Regions from separate parts of the Homo sapiens genome. Here all the other regions are linked to region 1. Evidence: promoter capture Hi-C in 16 types of primary human blood cells and fetal thymus (Javierre and others, 2016). All regions are on one chromosome and are shown on one strand. Each heading gives the region's core, a stretch centred on a gene start or on the middle of the fragment in contact. The rest is flanking DNA. Distances are from core to core; before and after follow the strand shown. Region 1 holds the start of CASC11 (cancer susceptibility 11). Region 2 overlaps CCDC26 (CCDC26 long non-coding RNA). Region 3 has its middle 40 kb from the start of LINC00977. Region 4 has its middle 72 kb from the start of LINC00976. Region 5 has its middle 53 kb from the start of LINC00976. Region 6 has its middle 9.4 kb from the start of LINC00976. Region 7 has its middle 19 kb from the start of LINC00976.

Region 1 (4,136 bases), core at 630-3,129:
CGCGCCTACCATTTTCTTTTGCTCCCTCTCAAACCCTCTCCCTTTCTCTGCTGCTCCTCCGTAGCAGTACTGTTTGACAAACCGCATCCTTGTCCTGTGAGTATAAATCATCGCAGGCGGAACAGCTGCCCTCCACACCGAGAACGCACTGCGCGCCCACCGCCACGCCACGCGCGTACCAGGCTGCAGGGCGCCTCGCTAAGGCTGGGGAAAGGGCCGCGCTTTGATCAAGAGTCCCAGGGAGAGTGGAGGAAAGAAGGGTATTAATGGGCGCGCGTTCAGAGCGTGGGATGTTAGTGTAGATAGGGAGGAATGATAGAGGCATAAGGAGGAAAACGATGCCTAGAATGATTAAAATAACCCAGCAACGCATTGCCACGTATACTTGGAGAGCGCGTTATGAATAAACTCCCATTGCATTTGTTGGGGGGAGTCATGTATTATGCATTATGTATGCACAGCTATCTGGATTGGATACCTTCCACCCAGACTGAGTCCCCCAATTTGCTGCCAAAGCAGCAGATACCGCCCCTCCTGCCCCGCCTGCTCAGGCTTCCGTGGGGCCCCGTGCGGGAGGCGTCTGTTTAGCCCTGAGATGTGTCTGCCTGTTCCAGAGCTGGGCTAGGGCGAGAGGGAGGTTGCCTGCTCTCTGCCAGTCTGTACCCCACCGTCCCACCCCCACGCCTCCCACACGGAGTTCCCAATTTCTCAGCCAGGTTTCAGAAGAGACAAATCCCCTTTGCGCCCTGTGGCGCCGGTTTGCAACAGTCTCGGGCTGCCGGGTTTGGGAGAAATCAAAGGTGCTAGACGGGAGAATATGGGAGGGGCAGGGGGTACCCGAACCGCGGGACCGGACTTCCTAAAAGGGGCAAGTGGAGAGCTTGTGGACCGAGCCGGGGGAGTCAGCAGAGACCCTTGTGAAAAAAACCGTTAACTCTTTCCTCCCCGGACAAACCGGACGTTTAATTCCTTTCCAGGTCCTCTTTCCCCTTTTATTATTGGAAATGCGGTCATGCACAAAAAATGCATCGATTCTGATCAAAGAAGAGGAGAGGAGTATTACTTCCGTGCCTTTTTTTGGGGGGGGGGGAGTCTTGAGCTAATTAAAATTTGGCTGCCTTCCAGGCATTAATTTCCTAGTTCACTGACTCACAATTTTTTCTGAATACTAGTGAAAGTGCACTGTATGTAACCCGCAAACGTGTATTCACATTTTATTTACGCTTCGACTTAGCTAGTTGCCCAGCCCCACACATGATTTGTTTGCTCCCTGAAATGATCTATATTTAATATATAATGTATATTCCCTCGGGATTTTTTATTTTGTGTTATTCCACGGCATGAAAAACAAAAAACATTCTTCTCATCCTTGGTCCCTCACCCAAAGGCATTTTAAGTAAACTTTTCTCTCCCTCCACCACCTCCAAAAGAGAAAACAATTCGGGGGAAAGGGGTGCGTGTATAGCATGTACGCTGTTCAAGATGGGTTATTACCCGTTGAGTTTGCAGCTCAGCGTTCAAGTGTTAAGTGAATATAGTAGCTTCCAAATCCGATGCACTGCACAATTCAGCTTTAAGGATTGCAAATTACTCCTGCCTCCAGGCCTTTGCCGCAAACGCGGGGAGCAACCAATCGCTATGCTGGATTTTGCTGCAAAGCGTCTTTCCCTCCGCCCCCTCTCTGGGCAGCACCCGCGTTCAGGTTTGCGAAAGTAAAGTAAGTGTGCCCTCTACTGGCAGCAGAGATCATCGCGCCTGGATGTCAACGAGGGCGGGGGTCAGGTGGGGGCAGGAGCAGGAGCGTCCGAGGTGCAAGGTTTCCAGCGGGGGAAGGACAGGCGGTTCCTTAAAACAAGTTTCCAGCCACCTCCTTGTTATTCTTTCAGGTTGGCTGCAGAAGGTCCGAAGAAAGAGGAGTTACTGGAGGAAAAAGTGGTTCAGAGGTGACTATTCAACCGCATAAGAGATGGTGAAAATTAACCTATCACCACTGCTAATGAACATCACCCTATGGAGAACCGGTAATGGCAAACGTGAAATAATTCACAAGTACATAGACGAAAAAAAAATTCCAACAAACCCTAAAACGGCCAAACAAGCTTTAGCCCCCACGTCTTAGAAACTCATCATCTTTTTTAACCACAAAATTTGAAAGCAAGACACTGGATTTATTGGGGAAAGGGGAGGCACAGCAGAAGGTGATGGGTATTTGGTTTGGCCTATTATTATTAATTATTATTCTTATTATTTTTGAGACAGGGTCTCCTTCTGTCACCCAGGCTGGAGTGCAGTGGCACAATCAAAGCTCACTGCAGCCTCGATCCCCCCGGGCTCAAAGCAAACCTCCTACCTCAGCCTGATACCCCAGCCCAGTAGCTGGGAGTGCAGTGCACCACCACACCCGGTTAATTTTTTAAACTTTTTGTAGAGAGGCAGTCTGGTCATGTTGCCCAGGCTGGTCTCAAACTCCTCGGTTAAAGCGATCCTTCGGCCTTTGCCTCTGAAACTGCTGGGAATACAAGTGCGAGTCATCGCTCCTGGCCTTGGCTTATTATTTTTACTTTTAAAATATTGGGCTGGTGAATAATAAGTGATTTTTTTTAATAGCAAGAAGGGGTATTTGAGATCTCATAGAAAAAAAGTGTGAAGGAATAGGAGCATTTTATTAAAGGTTTTAATACTAAAATGAGTATGCAATAAGGTTGAAGTAAATGTGAAGGAAATTTACCTGGCACGTGTCCCTGGTCAAGTAGGTTTTTACGGGGCAAAGAATCCCTGACGGTGTCTGATCACTTAGATGCCCTAAGGACTTCTGGCAGTGGAGGTTCCTTCCCGCAGGAGCCTTGTAGGCTGATTTCCCAGGAATCTGGCACTTTTGGCATTACTCTAATTGAAGCTAAATGAGTGCTCTCCACAGGGGCATGCACTCCCCGCCCCTCAAAGAAAACCCTCAACAACAAACAAACAACAATGGCAAAACCAAAAGTAGGTCCAGCTTGACCTCATAGGGTAGTTTTTGAAAGTTGCTAAAGATGGCGGATATACCACATCTTCGGATCTGACTCTCAAATTATGCCAGTCCAGTGTAGGGCATGTGAACCCCAGGCAGATATAATGCCTGTGGGTTCAGAACTTAACCTCACTCTCCCTCAGGCTGGTGACATCACCTGAGGTGTTACTTTCAAGTAACAGCTTGGAGTTGTTTTGTGCCATCTCCATTTTTACATGAGAGAAAACAAAGCCAGACCTCAGCCAGGTTAAAGGACATAACTGATTTTCTTTTAGTAATTTTTGAGACATATTTGACCTAGAATAGACATTTGCTGGGTTGAAAAATGGCTGAGATTACAACTAGTATCATGTATAACTACCAAAGTGATACGTGTCCATTGGAAAAATCCATTGAGAAATAGAAAAAGAAAGGAAAAGGCCGTGTGTGGTGGCTTATGCTTGTAGTCCCAGCACTTTGGGAGGCTCAAGTGGGAGCATCGTTTGAGGCCAGGAGTTCGACAACAGCCTGGGCAATGTGGTGACGTGCCATCTCTAAAAAAAAAAAAAGAAAAAAAAAAAAAGAAAAGAAGAAGAAGAAAGAAAGAAAAGAAAAGAGAGTTTTTTCTTCTTTAATTTTTTTTTTAAGACAGGGTCTCACCCTGTAGTCTAGGCTGGAAGGCAGTGGAATAATCATGACTCACTGCAGCCTCGACCTCCCTGGACTCAGGTGATCCTCCTACCTGAGCCTCCTGAGTAGTTGGGTCTACAGGCACAAACCCCACGCTTGGCTAATTTTTGAATTTTTTTTTTTGTAGAGATGGGGGTCTCACTATGTTGCCCAGGCTGGTCTCAAACTCCTAGACTCTGGTGATTCTCCTGCCTCAGCCTAAGTGATTCTCCTGCCTCAGCCTTCCAAAGTTCTGGGATTACAAAGGCATTAGCCACCATACCCAGCCTCCTCTCCTTCTTCTTCTTCTTCTTCTTCTTTTTTGTTTTTTAATAGAGGTACATTTTTGGTAGAGATGAGGTCTCACTGTGTTGCTCAGGCTTGGTCTCCAGCTCCTGGCCTCAAGCAATCCTCCGGCCTGAAGCAATTGTCCTGCCTCAGCCTCTGGAGTAGATGGAGTTACAGGCGTGAACCATGA
Region 2 (4,136 bases), core at 678-3,177, 1.6 Mb before region 1:
AATGGTAGAGGAACCCAAGCCAGGTGAGATATACAGAACTTAGGCAAGCCGTGCTCGTGTGTGTATGCATGTGTGTCTTCTTGCACCTGTCTACCACAGCCAGATGGAGCCTTCTGTGAACAGACTTCTTCAGCCACAGAAAAGTACTGGGGATCTCTCTGGAGTTTGCCCTAGCACTGGTTCCCATTTTTGAACACTTTTGAAATATTAGGGTATTTTTGTCCTGAAAAACACCTGCTACAATTGCATACATGAGTAGTTTTGGGCCCTTTATTGAAGGGTGGATGCAGAAAGTGAATTTGCTTAATTCTGGAGCATAGCATTCAATGCCATTTTTGTTTTCTTTGGCTTTAGGAAGGCCTGAGGAGAGAAGACACATAGTCATGCTGACTAAACCAGATCACCTAGAATTACCAAATGGAAAGATAAGAAAAATCACCCACAAATTTGTAATAATATTTACTCACTTTTCAAAGGTTTCTCCAACTTTTTGAGTCAGGACTAATCATCTTTAAATTAATTTCTTTAAAAAAAGAAGTAGAAAGAGATGATGAAAGAAAAGAGACTAGTTTTTTATTTGAAGGCACAGTGATTATTGCCAGTTGTCAAGGAAACTTTCCTCCTCCTGACCAGTCAATCAGTATCACTTAAGCTTTTGTTCTAACAAAAACGGGTTTCCCTCTATCAAGTACACACCTGATATATGCTTTTTCTTAATGTAAATATTAATAGATGGCCAATTGTTTCCATCATTCAGAGGCCTCCTCTGTTTAAACATTCTCTGCTGAATTTGTTTATTCCACTGTAAAAACCATGGCAACCACAAGGAAAAATGTTTTCCTGTTTTTCAGAGTGTTGGACTATTAGAACACTAGGGATCACTAGAAATAAAAAATACAACTTAGAACAAAGTCTTAACTCCATGTCAGGAAGATGGAGTATGACCAAGCAGCTGTGTAGCAAGTTCCAGGGACCACAGCAGAATAGGCTCTGTTGGCCGGGTGCGGTGGCTCACGCCTGTAATCCCAGCACTTTGGGAGGCCAAGGCGGGCGAATTATGAAGTCAGGAGATCGAGACCATCCTGGCTAACAGGGTGAAACCCCACCTCTACTAAAAATACAAAAAAATTAGCCGGGCGTGGTGGCGGGCGCCTGTAACAATCCCAGCTACTTGGGAGGCTGAGGCAGGAGAATGGCTTGAAGCCGGGAGGCGGAGCTTTCAGTGAGCCGAGCTCGCACCACTGCACTCCAGCCTGGGCAACAGAGCGAGAGCGAGACTCCATCTCAAAAAAAAAAAAAAAAAAAAAAAAAAAAAAAGAATAGACTCTGTTGTCTCTACCCAGCTCTGTCCCTGGATGTGCCCAGTCACATCCCTTTTCTGGGGTTCATTTTGCTGTTCAGTAAAATAGGAAGGCTGGACTAGAGTTTAAAGGGCTTTCTGGTGTTTCAGAAAAAGGTTCTCATGAAGATCTCTATGTAGATTATTGAAAGTAATCTTAGAAAAAACAATGTTAGGCAGCAGATACTTGGTTCTTTGGTCCATCTGGGCTGCTATAGCAAAAGTAACATACCCTGGGTGGCTTATAATCAACAGAAATTTATTTCTTAAGTTGTGGAGGCTGGGAAGTCCAAGATCAAAGTGCCAGCAGATTTGGTGTCTGGTGTTTTCTGGTTCCTAAATGGCAGTCTTTTTGCTGCATACTCACAAGTCAGAAGGGGAAACAGAGCTCTCCAGGGTATCTTTTATAAGGGCACTAATCCCATTCATGAGGGCTCTACCCTCATGACCTAATCACATCCCAAAGGTCTCACCTCCTAATACCGTCACATTGGGGGTCGGGACTTCAACATATGAATTTTGAGGGGACAATATAGTCAGTCCGTGGCACTTGGGCACCATATTGAGAGAGTTCACAGAACAGTGCATGGGTTTTATCTTAAGTACTATCTAGTTGCAAAATGCAGTACTTAGGACATTATAAAACAGAATTGTCGATTTTCCAGATCCATTATGTTTTAGAGAGTTGTCTCCTAACTATTTCCCTTTCTCCTGGAGAGTAGCACAGTTCTTTGGGCTACAAGATGTCTAGGAGAGATACTAATGCTCCCCCATGCTGCCTTTCTCCTCTTTCCTCTTTCCTGCTCCTCAGCACTATGAGCATAGGAGGGCCGTATGTAACACCCCTGGCTTCCTTGGAGAAGCTAGCTAAACAGAAGGAGACATTTTACTCTTGCAGAATTTGGCTTCAGTCCTCTTGTGGGGATTGAAGTAGAATCCAGGCCTATTCATTCAAATAGCATTTTCTGCCTTCATCCTAGCTTCAGCCACCTTTGTCTCTATTTCTATTCTTGCCTGGGGCTCCCTTGAAAGCAAACAAAGGCTGCAAAAATATGTCTAGAAATATTTTCTTAATTATTTTTTTCTAAGGAATATATTTAGGTCATTTTACTATTCTTCTTGGCCTTCAGGGCCATACACACAGACATACACGCACGCGCGCGCACACACACACACACACACACCCACACATATATAGCTTTACCAAGCCACCTATCCCATTTATGTGAAGTGAGATCGGGACTTTGCAAGAACTGAAAGATATGCAAGCTAGTTTACGGCAAAGCCAGACACTACACTGATGGAATCAAAGAGACCCAAGAACTGAAATGTCAAAGCCCTGGGAACACTTTTCATCACACCTCACTTACAGTGTCCATTTCTTCAACTCTAACATAAGCAGATTGTGTTATATGCTCTGTCAGGTTCCACTCAGTTTCCACCTTTTGTTGATTTATCTTAATCAACATTTCTTAAATAATGATAAATCAACTTATCTTAAATAATGATACATCAAGAAAAGCAATATGATTTAAGATATATTTAGTGTGTCTGCTTTTTAAAGGACTGGTATAAATACCTCCGGGATATTTAAAATCCCTGAAGACATTGGCTCAAAGTATTATTATTTTCTCTAATTCACTAAGATTAGGGAACAAAGTGTACTTGTGGTATTTTCGAAACTGACTGGTTGTGAAATCACAGAATGATGGTCAAAACTGTTTTTTGCCCTTACCTGTGCCTCTATTTCTGGCTTCTCAATGATAGAGCATAGTCCCAAGAAACCAAAAGGGAATAAAACAATCCACTTGATGAAAATGACACCATCACTCTGAATGTTCAAGGGTCTTCAATAAAGCTTGTGGCTGAAAACCAAGCCCAAAACTAGGTTTCCTAGTTTTTCCTCTAAATATAAACTTCAGGATCTGACTTGAGACTATTTGGATGTGCAACCTAGAGTCTGTGTGTTACCCACAGGCATGGAGGGGCTCCGGCATGGCTCATGCCCATAGTCTTTGGTAGAATAAAGTAGAAAAGAGTAATGAGTATGAGGCAGAGGGAGAGACTGGGGTGAAGAAGAAAAGAAGTGCCCTTCTTTATGGCATTGGGAGAATGAGGTATGAGAGTCCCCCTATTCTTCAGCTTGGAATTTGCTAGACCTGGACTTGAGTGCCTGTTCCACCATTTAAGAATTAAATAAAGTAATGTGTATTACTGCTTAGCTAAGGAACAGGCATATGGTAAGTTCTCAACACATGATACCTGCTTTTATGATTATTTAGGCAAGGTGTGTCACAGGCCAGGGTTTCTGTAATCTCACTTCCAAATGAGGTGATTCAATATTCACTCATGTCCTTCCTAAATCTAAAACAACTAGATCTCCTGCTGTGTGATAGAATGCCCAAACTTATTTGACCACAGAATATTTTAAAAACTATGAAGTATTAATAGAATCAACAGTCATTCTTGAGGATATATATTTTCGATGAGTAATAAACACTAAAATATGTTGAGACGTGTTGAAAGGATGCATTATGGGACCTGTGATGATCATGTACACAGTGCTTTCAGCAGTTCCTTCTGTCACACAGCAGGGGATCTCAGGCAACTTATTCTTTGGAAAGCACATTATTTCTTATAGTACAATGTCACATAATTATATATGTGTATTTAGGTTCTTGTGCTCTTAAAATATAATTATATATTAGAAGAAAAACTTGCTAGTGTTAATTTTATTTTGTGAAACATCTATTAACAGCATATTCCACAGAAACTAGTTGGCCAAACCTCACATCCT
Region 3 (4,136 bases), core at 1,049-3,548, 1.5 Mb before region 1:
GACAGATGCATGACTCTTCCTTTTTCCTGAACACTTAGAGTTCGTTGTAGGGTTATTAATTGGTCTAATTTCAATATTTTGTGTCTCAGGGAATAGGGAGGCCCAAGGAGAGGGAGAGAGATGGTGGAGCAGTCAGAACACAAACAGCACTTATCAATAAGTTCACTGTCTTATATGGAAGTGATTTGTGGTGCTCCAAACAATTCTAAGGGTAATATCAAAGATAACTGATCATAGATCACCATATGATATGGTTTGGATCTGTGTCCCTCCTAAATCTCACATCGAATTGTAATCCCCAGTGTTGGAGGTGGGGCCTTTTGGGAAGTGATTCAATTGTGGGGCAGTTTCTCATGGTTTAACACCATTCCCTTTGGTGTTGTCATGGCAATACTGAGTGAGGGAGTTACTGAGAGATCTGATTGTTTAAAAGTGTGTGGTACCACCCCCTTCCCCCGCTCTGGCCATGTAAGACATGCTTCCTTCACCTCTGCCATGATTGTAAGTTTCCTGAGCTTTCCCCAGAAGCCCAGCAGATGCCAGCATCGTACTTTCTGTAAAGCCTGCAAAATTGTGAGCCAATTAAACCCCTTTTCTTTATAAATTACTCAGTCTTAGGTATTTCTTCATAGCAATGGATAATAAACTAATACACCATAACAGATATAATAATAATACAAGTTTGAAATATTGTGAGAATTACCACAATGTGACACAGAGACACAATGCAAACACATGCTGTTGGAAAATGGTGCCCATAGACTTGCTTGGCACAGGGTTGCCACAGTCTTTCAATTTGTAAAACGTGACATCTGTGAAGCACAATAAAGCGAAGCACAATAAAACAAGGTATGCCCATATATTCTTTAAGTGTTTTTCTGTTATCCAAAAATTGCCTAGAGGAAGGGTACTGGGAATAGCTAGTAGATTTTCCCGCGTAACTAGCCTAAAGTTATTTTTAATCATTATAACATTTGCTCCTGTTTAAAGTGTTACTTTTAGTGTAGTTAAAAGTAGTTTAGTCTTTTACATAGAATATAAATAGTTAAAATTAACTCATATATATTCATTCGTATAATTCCAGCTCTGATACTTATTAGTTGGTTATTTGTTAGTTAAATTGTAAAAAGTAAAAAATAATGATAATAACCTTATTGTGAGTTTAAAAAAAAAAATCACTTGAAAGTACCTAACTCAGAGCTCAACATATGGAAAGCACTCAAAGAATATTTAAAAGAACTATAAAAATAGTGGAGAATAAAAAATATAATGAGGTTTCATTGTGTGAAAAATTTTAAGCTTCAATTTCATCATATGTATTAATCTTACTACCCTAGTTGGTCATGATCATTATTGCATGAGGTAATTTGAGATTCTGCAGGATACAAGTTTCCATGGAAACTTCCAATGTCCTAGTAACTTCTTAATGTTGCAACTCAAAATATGAAACCACTTGGAATGGATGGAAAGTTTCCCTGAAATTGCATATCTTCTTTTTTTCATTTATGAATTTATTTACTTTAAACCAGCTGCCAACTGTATATGCCTGGAATGCTATGTCTGCTACCCTTTATCTATTCAAAGCATGTGATTCTTTAGAAGTTTTCTGTGTCCCCTCAACTTATAATTTCTTTCTTTGATCTATTACGTATTTTTTCTAAAATGCTCATTTCCTCACACCTGCCATGGATGATTATTTAACTCTTCATACATTTATCCAACCACTTCTTTATTAAGAGATATGTATTGATTACTTAATTGTACAGGGTTCTCTGAGTGGGGAAAAGCTGAACAATGAATGATATGCAGTTGTATGGATATTATTTTTGTCCACTCAATTTGGGACATCTGTAGCCATTTTGTAACCACAAGAGATGTTAGCCTAAAGAAGAAGCCAAAACAGAGAGGAAGGCCGAGCCAAGAGCACCACAGAGTAATTCAAGGAGGGCCATTGCATTCAGCCAACTCTGAAATCCACCTCACCTCTCAATGTCTATTCCCAGGAACTTCACAAACCATTTCCATATTGTTTAAGCTAACTTCAGTTTGGATATTTGGGCTATTTGTAACCCAAGGTATTTTAATTGACATACCTATTCTTATCTTTCATGTGAGAGTCTAAGCTCCTGAAGAATAAAGAATGGTTTATGAGTTTACATTGGTGTAGAATGGTTTACATTGATTAGCACAGTTTTGAACTTATGGTGGATATCCAGAATTTGAATCCAAATATTTTTGATTTGATATTGCAGGAATTCCCTTTGCATTAAAAATTAATGATTCTTGGTGTTTTTAGGGTCATGCATCTTTCAACAACTGAAACTGATAAAGGTATTGACTGTGTGTGTGTGTGTGTGTGTGTGTGTGTGTGTGTGTGTGTGTGTGAGAATATATATATATACTCTTAGATGCAGCAAACCAAATAGTTATGTGAAATTTCAGGATTTTGTAATTCTCTCTGAAGCTATTCATTCACTCAAAGCTCTCTGCTAAGAATTCCTTTCTAAGTGATGATTTCTGTCTAGAAATTTACACTGGCTAATTCTCTATGATCCTCTTTAAAGCCCACATAATATGAAATATGACCTTCCAAACTGGTGTAAAAATGAGAATTGTTTTTTACTTACTGGTTGTCAACATTATTTATACCCATTGTCTACTATTAATTTGAGAGACAGGCCACTACTTTAGTGCTTAATACTTAATAAAATGATTTCTTTAATAAAGGGGGGGATTCCTCAAAATGTAAAATGACCATAATTTAAAAAATATTTTATTTTTCATAAATTCTGATATTAATAACAAGAATAGTAATAATGACAGCAATGAATATTTGCATAGTGGGTTTCAGTTTTCAGAGTTTTTTGTCTAATTTACTCCATTCTCAACAGCCTTGTGAAGTAGAAAGAGTGGATATTTGTTAATTTATGACCATCTAGCATCCATTAATTTGAGGGACCTAACTAGCCCCTGTTTTGTACATTCTCGGTGGGACTATAAATCAATGTCCACTGCCCTTCTAATAGAGAACTAGAGGTCCCTGAAGGCTAGTACACTCTCCTCCCTCCAGACTCTTTCTCTCACTGCTTCAAAGAAGCCCAGGGGGTTTTGATCTATGCTGAGTCAATCACACTCTTTCTCCCAGAACTTTGTGTGTGGAATCAAGTGACTCACAGCAGAGAAAAATGGAGACCTTCATTTTAGGTATGGCACTCTAATGAGACGATAGACTGGCTCTTGTTGCCTGGATCCTATTTTGATTTTTGACTCTGATTTTTGCTTTGTTTCTAAGCTTGGATACTAGCCTATCAATTTATTTTGTGAGATCTTTGTCAGCACTCCAATAAATTCCTTTTTTTTTTTTTAAGTTAACTAGATTCAGATTGGGCTACTGCCAGGAAAGAGATCTAATAATGGAGAAAACACAGACTTTTCATCTCCATATTATGTTTGAGAATGTGGAGTTGCAATTAAACAATAAAAAAGCCAGGCATGCCGGGTGCCATGGCTCATGCCTGTAATCTCAGCACTTTGGGAGACCAAGGCGGATGGATCACTTTAAGTCAGAAGTTCGAGACTAGCTTGGCCAACGTGCCAAAACCCCGTCTCTACTAAAAACACAAAATATTAGCCAGGCATGGTGGCACGCACCTGTAATCCTGGCTACTCAGGTGGCTGAGGCATGAGAACTGCTTGAACCTGGGAGGCGGAGGTTGCAGTGAGCTGAGATCGCCACCAGTGAACTCCAGCCTAGGCGACAGAGTGAGACCCTGTCAAAAAAAAAAAAAAAAAAAAAAAAAAAAGCCAGAATTTAATATAAGACTCTGAGTGTTCTGCTGTTTCTAGCACTCTTTCAGGTAATTTTTAAAAAGTCACCTGGGTTTTCTTGGCTGTGAAAGCAAGGGTTGAACAGAATTCAACTTTGAACCCTTTATGTGTTAGTATTAATTTCAGCTGAATTAACAGGAAAACCCAAAGTAACTGCTTTTAAAAAGATCACTTTTGGCCAGGTGCGGCGGCTCACGCCTGTAATCCCAGCACTTTGGGAGGCCCAGGCTGGCGGATCACCTGAGGTCAGGAGTTAGAGACCAGCCTGGCCGACATGGTGAAACCCCATCTCTACTAAAAATGCAAAA
Region 4 (4,136 bases), core at 1,075-3,574, 1.3 Mb before region 1:
TTCTTTTTCTCTCTCTCTCTCTGTCTCTTCATTTGCTCTCATCATTTGCTCTGGAGGAGTCCAGGTGCCTGGCATATCTTGAGGACACCCAGTCAATCCTATAGAAAGCCCACATGGTGAGGAACTCAGGACTCTCAGTTCAACAGGCCTTGAAGAACTAAGACCTACCAACAGCCACTTGAGTGAACTTGGAAGTGATTATTCAGTCCAAGTGGAGCTTGAGATGGCTGCATTGTTGACCAATAGCTTTGTTGCAAGCTCATGAGAGACCCTGAAGCAAAATCACTCAACTAATCTGCTTCCTAATCCCTGACCCACAGAACTGCAAGATGATAAATGTTGTTTTAAGTCACTAAATCTTGGAGTAATTTGAATCAGAACAATTTATAATTATTACAAAGTAAGCATGAGGAAGCTGGAGTAGCTATATTACCAATACATAAACTAGAAAAAGAGTTATAATGTAGGAATTATAAGAGGTAAAGAAAATCATTTCAAAATGATAAAAGGGTCAACCCATTATTCATCATAATCACAACTATACCTGAAATAACAGAGCCTCAAAATACCTGAAGCAAATATTGATAGAATTCCTGGGATAAATAAACAATTCCACAATCAAAGAAGACAATGTTAATACTTTACTCTCAGCAATGGATAAGACAACTAGAAAAAAAAAAAACAGTAAATGCAGAAATGATCTGAATAGCACTATCAAGTACAAACTAATTAAGACCTGTAGAACACAATGCCTCACCTAGATGCACAATATATGTTCATCAAGAAAGAACACATGCTTGACCACAAGACAAGTCTCAATAAATGTAAAAAAATGCAATCGTATTATTTGAGTACAATGTAATGCAATTTGAAGTCACTAATAGTAAGATACTTACAAAACCCCAAATATCTGAAAATTAATCAAAACAATTCTAAATAATCTACCAGTCAAAGAACAAAGCACAATGAAAATAATACTTTGAACAGAATTATAAAGAAAATATACTAAAGAATGAAGGATGACAATAAAGAAAAGAATAGTAAGAAGTTGACAAATATAAGTCCATACATTAGAAGGGTAAAGTCTAAAATATTCATGCTAAGTGTGGTGACTCACACCTATAACCCCAGCACTTTGGGAGACCTAGATGGTAGGATTGCTTGAGCCCAGGAGTTTAAGACAAGCCTGTGCAACACAGTGAGGCCCCATCTATAAAAATAAAAGACAAAAGAAAATTTAAAAATAAAACCATGAGCTAAGGTCCCACCCATAGAAATTAGGGGAAAATAAAAGCAAAATAAACTCCAAGTAAGTAAAAATAAATAAGTAAATATGAGCATAAATCAATCAAATAAAAACCAAAATAGTAGAGGAAAAAATAAGATGTGATTCTTTAAAGAAATCACTAAAAATAATAAAAAGTTAGCTAACTGATAAAGATAAAAAATATTGGAATGAAAGAGGGGTTATTACTATAGATCCTCCGGATATTAACAGAATAAGATTATTATTTAATAACTGCACCAATAAGTTTGACAAGAGGAAATGGACTAATACCTTGGCAAATATAACTAATCAAAACTGACAAATAATGAAACAGAAAACCTGAGTAACCTTATGTCCATTAAAGAATTACACACACAAGGACACATACATACTCACACACACAACTCTGGGCTCAGATGGTTTTAGTGGTCAATTGTACATTAGATATAATACATTAGAAAAAGCAGTATGAATCTTCCACAAATTCTTTCAGAAAATAAAAAACAGGTAGGAATACTTTCTCATTTGTTTTCTGATACCAGCATAAACTCATTACTAAAACCAATAAAAGCATTATTTTAAATATATACATAAATATCCCTCATGCTCTTGAATGTAAAACTACTTAACAAATATTAACATTAAGGGTTAGGTGAATGATTAGCAAATCATGATATTGCTTTTCTTATGTAAGCAAAATATTAAGAGTGGATGAGCACGAGTATGTCAGCCTGTGAGGGAAAAATCACATTCCTGTTTTCTTTTTCAGAATGTTATGCACTCGAAATCACATAGTACGTAGGTTTTCCAGACTAACTTCCTTGATTTCACAATATGTGTAAGAGTTACTTCATTTCTTTTAAATCACTGAATAGTATTCCATTGTGTGGATGTACCACAGTTTGTTTACCTGCTCACCTTTTGAAGGACATCTTAGTTGCTTTCAATTTTTGATAACTATTAATAAAGCTGCTATAAGCATTCATGTATGGGTTTTTGTGTGCACTAGATTTTTAATTCATTTAGGTAAATACCTAGAAAAGCAATGACAGCATATGCTTATGTTTAGCTTTGTAAGAAACAGCTAATCTGTTTCCCAAAATTTGTTTCCCCACGAGCAATGAATGAGAGTTCCTGTTGTTCCATATTCTCAGAGGTATTTGGTATTGTCAATATCTTTGATTTTAGCTGTTCTAACAGTGATGCAATGGCATCTCATTGCTGTTTTAATTTGCAATTCTCTAATTACATGTTATATTGAAGATCTTTTACATATGCTTAATCACCTTCTGTATATCTTTGGTGTGGTATCTGTTGAAGTCTATTGTCAAATTTTTAACTGGGTTGTTTGTTTCACTATTGTTGAATGTTAGGAGTTCTTTGTATATTTCTGATACAAGTCCTTTATTAGATATGTGATTTGCAAATATTTCATCTCAGTCTGTGGCTTTTTGTTCTCTTAAAAGTGTATGTCACAGAGAAGATGCTTTTAATTTTAATGAAGTCCAACTTAATAATTATTTTTTGTTTATGGGTCATGATTTTGGGTGTTGTATCTAAATAGCCATCAGCAAACCCAAGACTGTCTTAAATTCATTTCTATACTATTTTGAGAAATTTTATGTTTATATTTTACATTTAGAAAGATCTATGATCCATTTGAATTAATTTTTGTGAAATATAAAATGTCTGTCTAAATTTATTTTTTTGGCATATGGATGCCCAGTTGTTTCAGTACCATCTGTTGAAAAGGGTATTCTTTCCCCATTGAATTGCCTTTCCTCTTTTGTCAAAGATCAGTTGACTGTACCCAAGTGGGTCTATTTCAGGGTTTCCATTCTGTTCCATTGATCAATTTGTCTATTATTTTACCAATACCACAGTGGCTTGATCACTGTATTTTTATAGGAAATCTTGAAGTTAGGTGGTGTCAGTCCTCTGGCTTGTTCTTCTTCAGCATTGTGTTGGCTTCTGGATCATTTACCTCTCCATGTAAACTCTGCAATCAGTTTACTGATTTCCACAAAATAACTTGCTAGGATTTTGCTTGGGATTGCATTGAATCTACACATCAATTTGGGAAAAACTGACATCTTAACAACATTGAATCTTTCCAGAAACATATAATTTTTTGTTTAGTTAGTTCTTTGTTATCTTTCATCAGAATTTTGTAGTTTTCCTCATATAGATCTTGTACATATTTTGTTAAATTTATACCTACGTATTTCATTTTCTTGGGTGCTAATGTAAATGGTAATGCATTTTTTTTATTTTAAATTCCTTTTTTTCTTAGTTGGTTTATAGGAAAGCAATTGACTTTTGCATATTAACTCTGTTTCCTATAATCTTGCTATAATTGCTTACTAGTTCCTAGAATTTCTTTTTTATGTTGTTTTGTTGATTCCTTGGGATTTTTCTACATAAACAATTACGTCATCTGCAAATAAAGATAGTTTTATTTCCTTCTCAATCAGTTATTTTTATTATTTTTATGTTATTATTACATTGTTATTGTTATATTGTATTTATTGTTATTTTTATTGTTTATTTTCTTCTTATTGCATTAGCTGGGACTTGCCGTACACTGTTGAATGCGAGGGCTAAGAGGGGACATCCTAGGCTTGTTCTCGATTTTAAGGGAATGTTTCTAGTTTATGACCATTAAATACAATATTAGCTGTAGGCTTTTTTGTAGATGTTCTTTGTCAAGTTGAAGTCCTCCTTTATTTCTAGTTTTCTGAGCGTTTTTATCCTAAGTGGCTGTTTGAATGTCATTGAATAAATTTTTTTCTCCATCTATTATGAGGATATAATTTTTTGCAGCCTCTTGATGCCATCATTTTCACTATTTCATTTTCAAATGTTGAAC
Region 5 (4,136 bases), core at 1,008-3,507, 1.3 Mb before region 1:
GACCTGAGAATGTTTAGACAGGAAAAAAAATGTAAATGTTTTAAAGAAGTGAGTAAATGAACATTCTAATGGAAAAAGTAGAGATTTTTGCTATATAATGTGGAAGTGAAAAGAGGGAGTTTTGAGCTTATACTGGCTCTTAGTGTCATAAAGTGAGTTTCAGAAGGATCTCAGGTGTCTGTGTTTTGCTATGGAATTGTGAAGGTGATAGCCACTCAACTGAGCAGATCAATGTCCTTGCATATTTCTCAGTGGGTGAATTCTTCTTTGTTCTCTCTAAAACCTTATAGATATGGGTTTCATCTACCTGAAATATACTATTAGAATAGTAACACAGGATTCCAGAAAGAAATAAAACAAAACAAACAAATAAACAAACAAAAATCTCAACTCCTTGCTATTTGGTAAAGCCAGAAATGATATGTTCTCATCTCATCTAGTTTAGATTAGACATGAAAATACACAAGTTGGCCTTTTAATATTTTAGTTCAATTGAAAACATACTGATTGAGCATATATTGTATGTATATGTTCATACATACAGTATGATTTGGAGGATACAAGTTTCTAGCTATAAGAATGCACTTCTATTAGGACTGAAATTATAATGAAATAAATCTCAAAAGAGTTATGATTATATCTTATAAATACCACAAAAGAGGAGAAATTATTATAGCTTTTGAGAGTCATGGAAGACTCCCTGGAAACATTGACTCATGATAAGAATATTCAAAGAGTTATCCAGGTAAAGGAGTTTGAAAGGACACTCCTCAAAGATGGCATGCAAGGGAATTCTCCATGACATGGAGAATTTAAGTACCTCAATTAAGTAATTGAAATGAAGTACTTGCCATAGTGACCTGGGTACCTTCTCTGGTGCCATCAGTCCTCCTATTAGGGCAGCTCATAATCCTGGTATCTTCTAGTCCAGTCCCCGGAAACTTCAGACTATTTCTGTGCTCAATTGACAATTTTTTCAAAGATTTTGTGGGCCACCAATGTATTGTTAAGCATAAAGCACATGGGAGTCATTCCAAGAAAGTAAACAAAACAAAGTGACATAAATACCAGTGTTAATGAATTCACCTTATGCAATTATGTTTCCCTGTTGAAGAAATAGGGTGAGGCCTTGTAGCCACCCGTCAAGCAGTTATTGCATGTGGGCTTAACTTTTTGGGTAAAACTTTTTTTTTCAGTAGAGGGCAATTTCCAGAAAGGAACTCATTTATGAGCCCTCCTCAGTCAACACACATGGTCTTTGGAGGAAAAAGCACCTCAGTCTGGAAAGGGAATCTGGGCAGTGCAACACGGGACTTCCTACAACTCTCATATTCCTTAGCCCTATTGAACCATTTAAAGATGCAAGTGTATAATCCTAATAGCATTTCAACCCTTGCTGAAATTAATTATTACATTTATTCTAGGAATGAAGCAACGATATCTCCTAAAACACCAGGGTAAGTGATGGGGAGACCACAAATTATATTATGTATCTATTGGGTAATATTTCGCACCCTTAAGGACAGAGACTAGTGAAGGAAGAAGAGAACTATTTCACCCCTACAACACCTAGGAACATCAGCCAAATGTAAACTGGTGGATCACGTCATTTTACAGTGAAAATAGCCCCTGATGTAAGGGGTCCATTAATGTAGGAGATACAAAATTACATCAGGAGATCTTGAGTTCCAATATCCCTTGACCACCATTCCCTCTCAATCCTCTGACCTTGAACATTTCTCTTCTAGTTATATTGAAAAGTATCCCATATACCTTATCTAATTTAATCTTCTCAACAGCTTTATGAGTTTGGTATTCTCCTTCTCATTTTACAAATTAGAAAATTACTGCTCAAATAGTTTAAGTGTATGTTATCCAAATGTACCAAGTGACAGAACTGGAACTTCCACACAGGTCTTTCTTGCCAACAAGCCATACAAAAGCTTTACCCTAAAATAAACTATCTCTGGAAGCTTCGAATTAGAATGCACCTCTAAGGGGTAAAACTTAATTCACTAATGAGGAAGAGAATTTTCTAGAAACCTCTCAGGGATGGAAAGAATTAATTCTAAGCCCAATTCCCTCAATATCTAAACATCTTGGAAATGAGATACTTTAAAGCTGTTTTTGTTCTCTAGGGTGCTATTTAGTGCCTGAAGAAATAATCCACTAAAAGTGTCTTACCTCACTAAACTACTAGTAGCTTTCCAACAAATAATCAAAACACTCCATGTGCCCAAAGATGAATTCAATCATCAGGCAAGCTACAGAGAATAAATAGAAATATAATTCTAAAACTTCATTATTGGAATTTAAAATAGCACTACTTTTCTTTAATTCCAGCAAAGCCTTTAAACTGATCAGGAAGCAGCAGAAATAAGAATGGATGGGAGTGGTGGATTCTTAATTGTAAAATTTTACTGCTAAAGAAAACCCTGAGGTTAGAGGTGAGATTATATAAATGCCAACTATTAACAAATATTGGTCTATGGCACACAAGACTAAGAATGGACATTGAAGGGCAACAGTGTAAGAAGCTTAGCTTTCCATCACAGTATCCTCTACCTCTCTATGAACTTCAGCTGAGAAGTAGAACCACTGCATTTCTGGTTATCAACTGGTGAGAGGATGCTTAGATTATTCAATGACATTTGGCATCTCTTAATATATGAGAATCAAGTCGATACAAACTAGAACTCTTGATGAATTCAACCGGTAGAATATTTTATTATTAGAGAAGTTGGTGAGTTGGTGTAATAAAAATTATACAGTCTTTAGAGTCCAGCCTTTGAGACATGCTTAATTTCTCTTAGCCTGAGCTTTCCTGACAGTAAAGGGAAGGATGGGGAGCAGAGGCCATCCACGTTGCTGAAATATGGGGATAACTAAATGAAGTGATGCATGACCACAGTAAATGTTCTGTTGTTTTTATTTTCCTTTTTCATGATGAACTTGTGCTCAAGATTTGCTAAAGATAATGATAGATTAATTGTGAACAGCCTGAAGTATCAAGTAGGTAGGACAAAGCAGTAAGTGTATGTAAAAACATCCTGTTTAATCATTCAGAACTATATTTTCAAATAATTTCCCCCAGAAAATTGAAAAATATCAATAGTTAAATTTGTATCACTTTTATAAGGTTGAGTGAGGTTGAGAGAAAAGTCAAATTTCATTGGAGAAGATAATATATGTGTATATAAACTGCCTAGTGCAGAGCCAGTGAAATTGTAGGTGTTCAGTAAATAGAAAGTCTTATTATTTTTATGTATGTGCTTGATTTTCTCCAGCTCAGTGGCTTCTGGATATTTGAAGTACCCAGGACACTTGTTCCTGACTACTTCTTATTGGCACAATCTAACTCCCAGCTCTCCTATTTCTGAACATTTTGGTTCTCCATCTTAATTAATGCTTCCTGTCTATACCCCGTTGAACCGTGATTCCTTAACTTAACATTTAATTCAATCGTCCCTTCTGAGTATTATTCCTGGCTTCTGCTGTCACTTTACAACTGACATACTTCATACAAGGTGACCCACACTATGCCTTTCTATAATTTCACAGGATCATCTCTGACATTGTCAGCTCCCAGCTAGCCACTAACTTAATGTGGAAAGTATATTTAACCTTTGATGTTTCTTAGAAGAAAGGAGGACATTATCCTACATGTAGAAGAAGAAAAGAGAAGCAATTATTTACCAAGCACTCTACATTCAGTGTGATAGGCACACGGTAGATTCTATTATATTGGTGAATTGCTTCCAGTTCTTTACACCACACTTATACTAAAACAGTACATCCAAGTTTCCTGCTATGTGACTTTCTAGAACTTTCTACCAGAGTTGGTAGAATATATTCTCCACTTCATTGATGCGGGACTTGGTCAACAGGCTACTTTGGCCAGTGAGATGTTAGCAGTTGTGGCATGGTCAGATGTTTTAAGTGCATTTTTGTGGCTAAACTCAGCCTCTTGCACTTATTCGTTTATAACGGAACAAGCATCCTTAGGAACTGCTGGTGCTATAAGAATGATGAGGTGACATGAACTACAGCTTGCTTTATAGTTGGGTTGAAGAAGCTTAGAAAATGTTCTAAGTCCACACGACTGGTCATTTGTACCATCATGAGAAGAGTGTTAT
Region 6 (4,136 bases), core at 734-3,233, 1.2 Mb before region 1:
ATGATGTTCCCATCCCTGTGTCCACATATTCTCATTATTCAACTCCCACTTATGAGTGAGAACGTGCAGTGTTTGGTTTTCTGTTCCTGTGTTAGTTTGCTGAGAATGATGGTTTCCAGCTTCATCCATGTCCCTGCAAAGGACATGAACTCATCTTTTTTAATGGCTGCATAGTATTCTGTGCTGTATATGTGCCACATTTTCTTTATCAAGTCTATCATTGATGGGCATTTGAGTTGGTTCCAAGTCTTTGCTATTGTGAACAGTGCTGCAATAAACATACATGTGCATGGATCTTTATTTTCTTTAAGACAAGTCATGCTCAGCAGTGATGATGGCAGCTTCAGGATCCAGGTCTAGCCTTGTGCTTTAATTCAAAGCCCTCCTGGGCAGGGACATTGGTAGCTACTGACTTATGTCCTGAACTTCTCCGGGTTGGCTCAGTAACTGAAGAAGTCTTTTTTTCCACAGCAGAGTTCATCTGTGAGAAAGTAGGATTGACTTCTTGCAGCAGCAGAAGGAAGCCAGAGACTGATATTCTCAGAGGGCAGCAGGCAATTGCCCAAAGGATAGGGGAAGCACTGTCTCCAAGGAACCCCTCTTCATCCTCTTACAGTTCTGAACCTTAGGAAATTATTTATTAGCTAGAACTCAAATTTATCTTACTGTATTTTGTAGCCATTGGCCATGATAAATAGTTTTTAGCAGATTTCAGGGCAATCATTATTCCCATGTCTTAGTTCACTTTGAAGTTCCTATCAATGAAGAGGGGGTCCCTTTATCATTTAAATCTAGTGATATTTGATTAATGTTTCAATTGTTCAAAAGACTTTCTTCAGAGCTCATTTGTTTGATTCTTACAGCAACACTTCTAGAAGAAAGGTATTATTATTCTTCTTCTTTTCTAGATAAAAATACTGCAGATCCAAGATGCACCACAACCTGTACAAAGTAGCGTACCCAGCAAGTGGCAGAGCTAAGACTAGCTCTAATTCCAGAATCATCCAGGATTTCTAAAGTGATCATTTCAAGGTTATTTTATCTTCATCTCATCTCTCTAATTGCTCATTGATACCTAGTGGGATATACTCTGAATCTGATGTGATAGTCATTTTGGCTGTGGAGGGAGAGTTCCTTCTCATGCACATACATTTACTATTTATAAAACTAGTGTGGCTAGGCTGACACAGCCAGGGTCATGATTTCTCAGGAAAATGGCAGACTAATAGAGAAAAAGGTCATAAATATCATCAAATACAAGGCCTGACATTTACCAAGGACAATTGTTTTATCATAAAAGGCTCGGGTTTTTTGGAGTTTTTCCATTAAGCTTCCACAAAGCATCTTGCCTCTTACCAAGGAGGAGGAAAGGAAAACAAAGTGTGTACGTGTGTGTGCGGATGGGTGAAAGGTGGGTGGGGAGTAGAGGTAACAGATGAGAAGAGGAAGACCAAAGGAGACATTCCTGGGGTTTCAGGAGTAAACTGAGCTCCTAATTCTTTGTGACCAGGGGTAGGATTAAGAGTTCAAAAGGGCAGGTCATACAAGGGCAGGGGGCCAGGCTGGGTCTTGCAGGGATGTGACCCAGGAAATGCTGGCAGGCTGGGCTCCCATCCTTCCCCAGCAGGCCTCCAATTAGGATTTAATGGCCAAATGTGGAATGCATTAGGACATCTGAGCAGAAAGTCTGTGTTCAAAGGAGCCGAATCTTTTTGGCTAAGTAGAAAAACATTCCTCCCTGGCCAGTTTCCCCCTGAACCTTGCTAATTCTGGGGACCTCACTGGCAGTGGTGCCTTACAAAGCATCATTTGCAAGTGGTCTAGGCATAAACATCCTCTTTTCCTTGAAGATGACATAAAGAGAAAGCAACAGGCCCACCAGCTCTCTCTGGTATTTGGGGCAGTGTGAGGAATATAAACAAATGATTGACCCAGAATTCTTTGTGTCTGTGCATCTGGTGAATACATATCCAATTGAAAGAACCTAAGTAGACAATGCATGTATGTCAATATACATGGATATATCCAAGATAGAGTTTAAATACATGTGTACCTCAGTGTCTGCATGTATTTATTTATTTGTTACTGCTATATTTATTTATTTATTACTTTATACCCCGCCTTGTCAATAATCCAAGAGCTTGCCTAGGGTATATTCTTTGTGTTTGTGTGTGTATGTGTGCGTGCGCACATTGATACAAGTGTGTATAGATGTAAGTCAGTAAAAAGAGAAGGGGTAATACACAAATGTACAGAGGTAAATGTGTGAATCTGAATCTGTGTAGATCTTACACCTCTGAGTGTGACTAAATATACGGATTTGGGAGGGTATGTTAGTGTTCACATAAATGCTTCTGGAAGTAAGGATAACACAGTGGGGAAAGGTCTGCTCCGTGCAGATGAGCATGTGCAGTTGAGTATTCTGAAAGTGTGTATGCACATATGTATCAATGGATGTCTCTGTGGTGACATATTTTGCTTTGCATGTGTTGTTTTGTGTGACCATGAATGATAAATCACATCATGCACGTAGTATCTGTTAAAAGTGTGTATACATGGGTGTGTATGGTCCTTTTGATGTCTTTGTGTGCCACTGTGAAAGGGTGCAAATAATGTATGAATCCAACAAAGCTTGGATATGCATATTTATGATTATGTGTAATGATTTAATATGTATAAGTCATGAATGTGTGACTACATGAATATTTATACCTCTGGCAGGGCCTGTACTGGGGGTGTAGATTGTGGAGGACATGCCTAGTTTGGGGAGCATGAGATTCTGGATGTATCTGTGCAGTGAGTTAAAGAACATGCCTGTATCTTTGCTTGTGATTTTCCCATCCTACAACACACAAGGATGAATACCTAAATTTCAGCTTAGAAACGAAGCTGCTTCTGCTCTGGTCTAGGCCAGCTGCTCTTTTGGAGTTTAAATAAATGACACACGAAAATATGTCCCATTTCCGCCTAACAATATGATAATGTGCTTGTACACACACACACACACACACACACACACACACACACAAACTATACACTACACTTTCTTTGGTATAAAGCAAGTGATCAAATGAATTTTATCTTGAGCATTTTAGTGCTATCTTATTAGCCCTAAATTTGGGGTGACCAGCTTATCCATGTATGCCTTGGACTTTCCTTGTTTTAGCACTGAAAGCCCCCCATTCCAGAAAACTCGCCAGTCTTGTACAAACCAGGTCAGTTTGACCCCTACCTGAATTAGTTGGTGGTAGACTTCAGAACAGGGAAACTGAGTCTGGGCCATTTTTCATGCATGGAGCTCCCGGCCTCTTAAGCACAACATAGAGCATAAAAGCATGGAAATTTGCAGCGTCACAGATCCATTTTGGAACTCAACTGTATCTCTTTTCCAGATGTGTGAACATGGCAAATTTACTCAAGCTTTCTGAGCCTTAGGTTTCTCATCTGTAAAGTGAATATAATAACTGCTTCACAGGGTTATTTTACAGATTAAATGAGAACATATAGATGCAAAGCATTTGACTTACTACTCTGCATATAATATACTCTCAGTAAATAAATGCTACATTGTTATTATTCATGCATTCTTACAACATTTTTATTGAGCAATAACTACAGACAAAGTGTCTGCCAGAGGCTAAAAATATAAATATGCAGGAAACATAACTCCTGTTCTAAGACGTCTTCAGTGTACTGTGGAAGATATTAGTTAAAATTTATAAAAAACAATTACATTTTACTAATTGACAGGAGCTTTAAAAATTAAGGAATGCATCTGTATTATGAAGGGTAGTAGTTGTGTACTCCCAGTAGTTTTTAACAAGAAGTTCTTGTCATCTTCCAGAAGCAACAGCTGTTCTTGAGTAATAACTGTGGGCCTGGTGGTAGGCTGGCTGGGTGCCAGCTATACTCCACAGAGCAAAGTCACCCTTCCATGGAAAGACTGCCTCCAAAGAATGAGGAAGGACAGATGGCCACAGATTGTTCTGGAACATAACCCCAAGAGTCAGACTGCAAGAGAAGACTGAAGAGAAAATTTGGAGGTTGGGAGGGGCGGATTTGCAGCCAGTGCAGCCAGAACAATGCCTGATTCATGATGCAAAAAGCGAGGCTGTGTTCTTAAGGAGCTAAGTATT
Region 7 (4,136 bases), core at 637-3,136, 1.2 Mb before region 1:
CTTCTGTCCCATCTCTGAACCTTTACTAAGCTTTCCTTTTAATTCCAAGGCATTGATATCTCTAGAATCAAGACCTGATCAACAGTGAGAATAAATTTAAAAAGTTTTATGGGTCTGTCTTATTACCATGTATCTGCAACTTTTTGCAACTTTATGTCATTTACTCATCTGATGGACAGTGAAAATCTACTATATGCCAGACTTAAGGTGCATCAATTTGGGGAAAAATCGCTTATCACTCTTTAAGAATTTCAAAATCTAGCTGGAGAGACAGATACATGCATGCAGACAGAGAGAGAGAGAACTAGAGAGAAAATTTTAATGTACGAAAATAAATGCTATGATAGAGAAAAATGTAGGGAGTTGGTATGAATTCAGAGGTTCAGAAGAGGGGACAATGAATCCAACTTTGAGTCAAAGTAAGATTAGGGTGCCATAGAATACAGAAAGCTTCTCGGTGGAGCTGATAGGAGCTGAGTACTCAAGCACATGGGTAGGACCAGTCCACACCAACAGAGCAAAGCTGCACACAAGATGAATCATGTGTGAGAAGCAGTTCATTGGGATCTTCAAGTAATTGAGGAGTGCTTATTCTACTTCCCATTTCCAAAGGACGAAAAAGTGACTCATCACCCATCATAGAGAAGTAACAATCTTATGAAAGTTCATCTGGTTCATGTGCTTAGCTTAACAGATGAACCATGGTAAGTCCTGGAGAAGGAAACTGATTTGTCCATGGAAATGCCTCACTTAGCTTCCAAGCCCAGTCTCCTGAGCACAAATTATTTTACTTTCTTCAGCAGAATCAAACAAGTGAAATGATCTGGATTCACTTCCTATGCAGGGATAACTTTAGGACTTAGCACAGGTACCAGGAAGCTCTGAAATAAGTCAACTTGACTGATGGTCCTGGGTAGTAGAGTCACTGAGCTTTCATAACTAGATTCTTACCTTAAGCCCCAAATATACTTCAGCCTTATAGTGTAACTTTTATTAATTCAATTGCTTATTGCATAAATATTTAGTGTCACCAACTATGTCAGGCGCTCTACTAAGCACTATTGCTACAGTGATAACTAAGTTTTGTTCCTGTCATTTAAAGAAGCACAGTATCTGCTTTATTCATCTGAGCCCAATACCCTATCTTAGTTTCTTAGGAAGCTTCTCTGTCGTTGGGACATTTCCAGGTCCTGCTGAGGCCATGAGGAGGTTTCAAATGCCGTTCTAGAACTGTGGATCTTATGGTCATATTTCTATTACCCTCTTCTAAAGTTCTAAGTTCATTTCCTGTTCCTGACCCCACTGATACTACATTTCACCCATTTATTGATGTTTCTCTCTATAAACCAATCTGGATTTCCTCTTTTTACATTTATCCCTAGGGACCCATCTAGCTTCCAAATCATGACCTTCCTCAGATTGTTTCATTCTATTATGAACCAATACCCAGTCTCAGGAATCAAGATCACTGGGTATGTTCAATGCAGTTTGGGATTATTATTTCATTGAACATCTATTTACTGAACACCTGATGCGTGGCAGGCAAGTGTTTGCTACATAGCTTTGTGCAGTTATTTATTCTCCCTAAACTTCAGTTTATTTAGCTGGAATAATAATACCTGTCTCTTGGGTTATAAAAATTACATGAGATTATAAAGTTATCTTAGGTTTAGTTTCCTTGAAGCAGAGCCTGATATGGGGATTCATGCACATGTAACTAACTGAAGGAGTACCCTCAGGAGAAGCTGGTAAACGAATGAGGAAACAAAATAAAGAGGAAGGAGATATATAAGAATGTAGTCTCAGATAAGGTCTAAATAAGTCTGATTTTCTGGGGCTTTCTGGAACATAAGATGCACCAAAGAATCTGCCCTGACTTGAGGCAAGGTCAGTGGTAGTGGAGGGAGTCATGGTGTATTACAACCCCAGAAACTCCAAGGAGAAGCATTTTCAAAAGATCAAGAGGAATCCTCTGGAGAAAGTTGCAAGTGAAAGTTCTGAGCTGAAACACCCCAAGCAATTGAGGAATAGGTACACCAATCCTTCAGGTAAAAGGGATTCCAGGGGACTTGAGAGTCCAGCAATATCATTTGTGATAATAATCTTACAATGGAGACAGAGAAGGCAATGGGTAATTACAGATCAGTGGAATTGACAGAGGTAAGCATGAGCATGGGTGTTTACAGCCCTGGGTGCTAACCAAGGGTGAAGAGAGGCTTTCTGGAGGATGATGGAAGTGAATAGAGCTTTGGAGGTTAAGTAGGAGGTGGCAAAGCAAAATCACATGTCAAACATGGTCCTTGACAGGAAGGCTCTGACCAAGGCCATCATCCAAAATAGACTGCCTGTTTCATAGTCCTACCTGACAGGGAGACAGTTGGTGGTTTCTATCAGGAGAAAGCAAGAACTTGCCTTCTGAGCATCATTATTAAGGTGTAGCATGATAAACCAAGGTTTGACGTGGTGGATCTTGAGTGAAGTTTATTTCTTCCCAGGCAGGCATCCAGACACTGTTCATGTTAATACTCCTTCAGCAGGGCCCAAGAAGAGCACACCACAAATGCATAGATTAATATCAGCATGTGCTGGGAACAGCTCCAAACCAAGCTTTCAGCAGTTTGTAAAGATATGTATGAGGCACAAAGCAAAAGATACAGATTGAACTGGCCTGAAAGAGGAAACAAATGTATTGTTCTTGCAGGGTGTTGCCATTTGATTTTGTTTAGGGGCCCCTCAGACAAATAGGTGAGCTAAGAGCATCTGATGATTCAAAAAGCAGACTCAAACTGAGGACATTTTGCTAAAACCCCAGCAATTCTATGGATAAAGCTATGACACTTTAAAAAATGAGAGCAAAAGGGAGAGAGATTAACTTCAATCTGCGATGCTTCTGACTGGGCAAAAGGCACTGATTCATCCATGAGATTGCTAATAGCAGGTGTCTTTGGTGATTTATGCCAACAAACAAAGTTGTTGTGGGCCCTAATCCTTTTCCATCTGTTCTATAATAGGGAGTGGAAACAGGAGAGGTTATGAATAATTCTAGAGCTCTGGGATCCTTTTCCCTCTGAAATGTGGAAGCCAGCCTTCCTCATTACTTACCTCATGATCTTTAAGAGGTGATGGGGCTTTCTGGGGAGGCAGATTACCGCCCAGATACAGATTCTCTATCCTCTTTTGTAATCTATGCTGGTGATGCTTTCTGGACTTGAAATGAAGTAGGGACATAAAAGAAAATCTTTCTCTTCCAGTTAAAATCCATATAGTGAAAAAGTATTTTGACTGCTTACCCTGAGTCCACCATCAGCTGAGAAGGATCTCCAGGAGTTTAGGTTTTCTTGATAAGAAAGACCGACAAAGATAGTAAGAAGAACACCAAACATGCATTCATAGAGCATAGGTACCCTCCTCCTGTTTGTGATTTCTCTGTGGACATAAAATGGCTGTGGGTCCTTAAGTGAGTTACTACCTCCTCTGACCATCACTTTCTTCACTTTTAGAATGAGGATAATATCTGCATTTCCAGGTTGGGAAGACAACATTAGATAATTTTGAAAGTGGTACATAAATGTTAGTTTCTCTTCTATTATTTTTAGGCATAAACATATAAAAATACATGGAAACCTAATGGGTAGGTAACTCTGAAGTGAGCTGCTGGGGTGGTATTTGAGCTGGGCTTTGAAGAAGAGGTGGGCTTCCATCAGGTAGAGATAAGAGATCAGTGCAGTTCAAATGAGAGCAATCATCTGCTTTAGTTTCCTAAGGCTGGTGTAAGAGATGTACCTCAAACTATTTACATGGTGAGTTTGCTTAGGAAAGCATTTCGTTTGAGGTGTCTGTGGGAATTCTGGGAATAGGTGTCCAAGGTACAATAGGTTGGAGATATATAGTTTCCAGAAAAATCATGATAGTGAAACATTATATATGGATGAGGTCTCAGGACCACTTAGCAACTAGGAAAATATAGGTCTGTTGCTTAAACAATAGTAACTTATTCTTTCACAGTGAGGAGGCTAGATATCTAAAACCAAGGGACTGGCAGAACCGTGCACTCTGGATCTAAGGCAGACATATCCTAGCTTCTGGTGGTTTCTGGCAATCCTGGGTGATCCTTGAGTTACAGATGCATCACCCTC

What was found. The method cuts DNA at HindIII sites, captures the fragments that hold promoters and counts their contacts. A CHiCAGO score of 5 or more calls a contact.
Region 2: a contact is called between a fragment that was not itself captured here and the fragment with the promoter of CASC11 in region 1, in 1 of 17 cell types (fetal thymus). The highest score is 5.2, in fetal thymus.
Region 3: a fragment that was not itself captured here is called in contact with the fragment with the promoter of CASC11 in region 1 in 1 of 17 cell types (megakaryocytes); the score reaches 5.4 in megakaryocytes.
Region 4: a fragment that was not itself captured here is called in contact with the fragment with the promoter of CASC11 in region 1 in 1 of 17 cell types (M2 macrophages); the score reaches 6.9 in M2 macrophages.
Region 5: a contact is called between a fragment that was not itself captured here and the fragment with the promoter of CASC11 in region 1, in 1 of 17 cell types (monocytes). The highest score is 5.1, in monocytes.
Region 6: a contact is called between a fragment that was not itself captured here and the fragment with the promoter of CASC11 in region 1, in 1 of 17 cell types (monocytes). The highest score is 5.3, in monocytes.
Region 7: a contact is called between a fragment that was not itself captured here and the fragment with the promoter of CASC11 in region 1, in 1 of 17 cell types (monocytes). The highest score is 8.1, in monocytes.

Annotation. Positions count from the first base shown.
Region 1 is chr8:127,731,710-127,735,845 of GRCh38, reverse strand. It overlaps CASC11 (cancer susceptibility 11), which reads left to right and starts at 1,879. Exons shown (of 4, transcript NR_117102.1): 1 at 1,879-2,021. It also overlaps a transcript of MYC not described here. RefSeq lists a silencer at 1,685-1,804, a cis regulatory region at 387-3,129 and an enhancer at 2,709-3,210. The HindIII fragment of the contact is 10,989 bases long and covers 1-2,101 here.
Region 2 is chr8:129,366,596-129,370,731 of GRCh38, reverse strand. CCDC26 (CCDC26 long non-coding RNA) reads left to right here. Exons shown (of 4, transcript NR_130917.1): 3 at 355-425. Among named protein-coding and RNA genes, the nearest start is that of MIR3686, 120 kb to the left of the region's middle. RefSeq lists an enhancer at 52-221. The HindIII fragment of the contact is 2,545 bases long and covers 655-3,199 here.
Region 3 is chr8:129,279,440-129,283,575 of GRCh38, reverse strand. No RefSeq gene overlaps it. Among named protein-coding and RNA genes, the nearest start is that of LINC00977, 40 kb to the right of the region's middle. The HindIII fragment of the contact is 1,993 bases long and covers 1,302-3,294 here.
Region 4 is chr8:129,036,401-129,040,536 of GRCh38, reverse strand. No RefSeq gene overlaps it. Among named protein-coding and RNA genes, the nearest start is that of LINC00976, 72 kb to the right of the region's middle. The HindIII fragment of the contact is 7,682 bases long and covers 1-4,136 here.
Region 5 is chr8:129,016,719-129,020,854 of GRCh38, reverse strand. No RefSeq gene overlaps it. Among named protein-coding and RNA genes, the nearest start is that of LINC00976, 53 kb to the right of the region's middle. The HindIII fragment of the contact is 564 bases long and covers 1,976-2,539 here.
Region 6 is chr8:128,973,322-128,977,457 of GRCh38, reverse strand. No RefSeq gene overlaps it. Among named protein-coding and RNA genes, the nearest start is that of LINC00976, 9.4 kb to the right of the region's middle. RefSeq lists enhancers at 1,123-1,899, 1,252-2,097. The HindIII fragment of the contact is 1,301 bases long and covers 1,333-2,633 here.
Region 7 is chr8:128,945,395-128,949,530 of GRCh38, reverse strand. No RefSeq gene overlaps it. Among named protein-coding and RNA genes, the nearest start is that of LINC00976, 19 kb to the left of the region's middle. The HindIII fragment of the contact is 1,446 bases long and covers 1,164-2,609 here.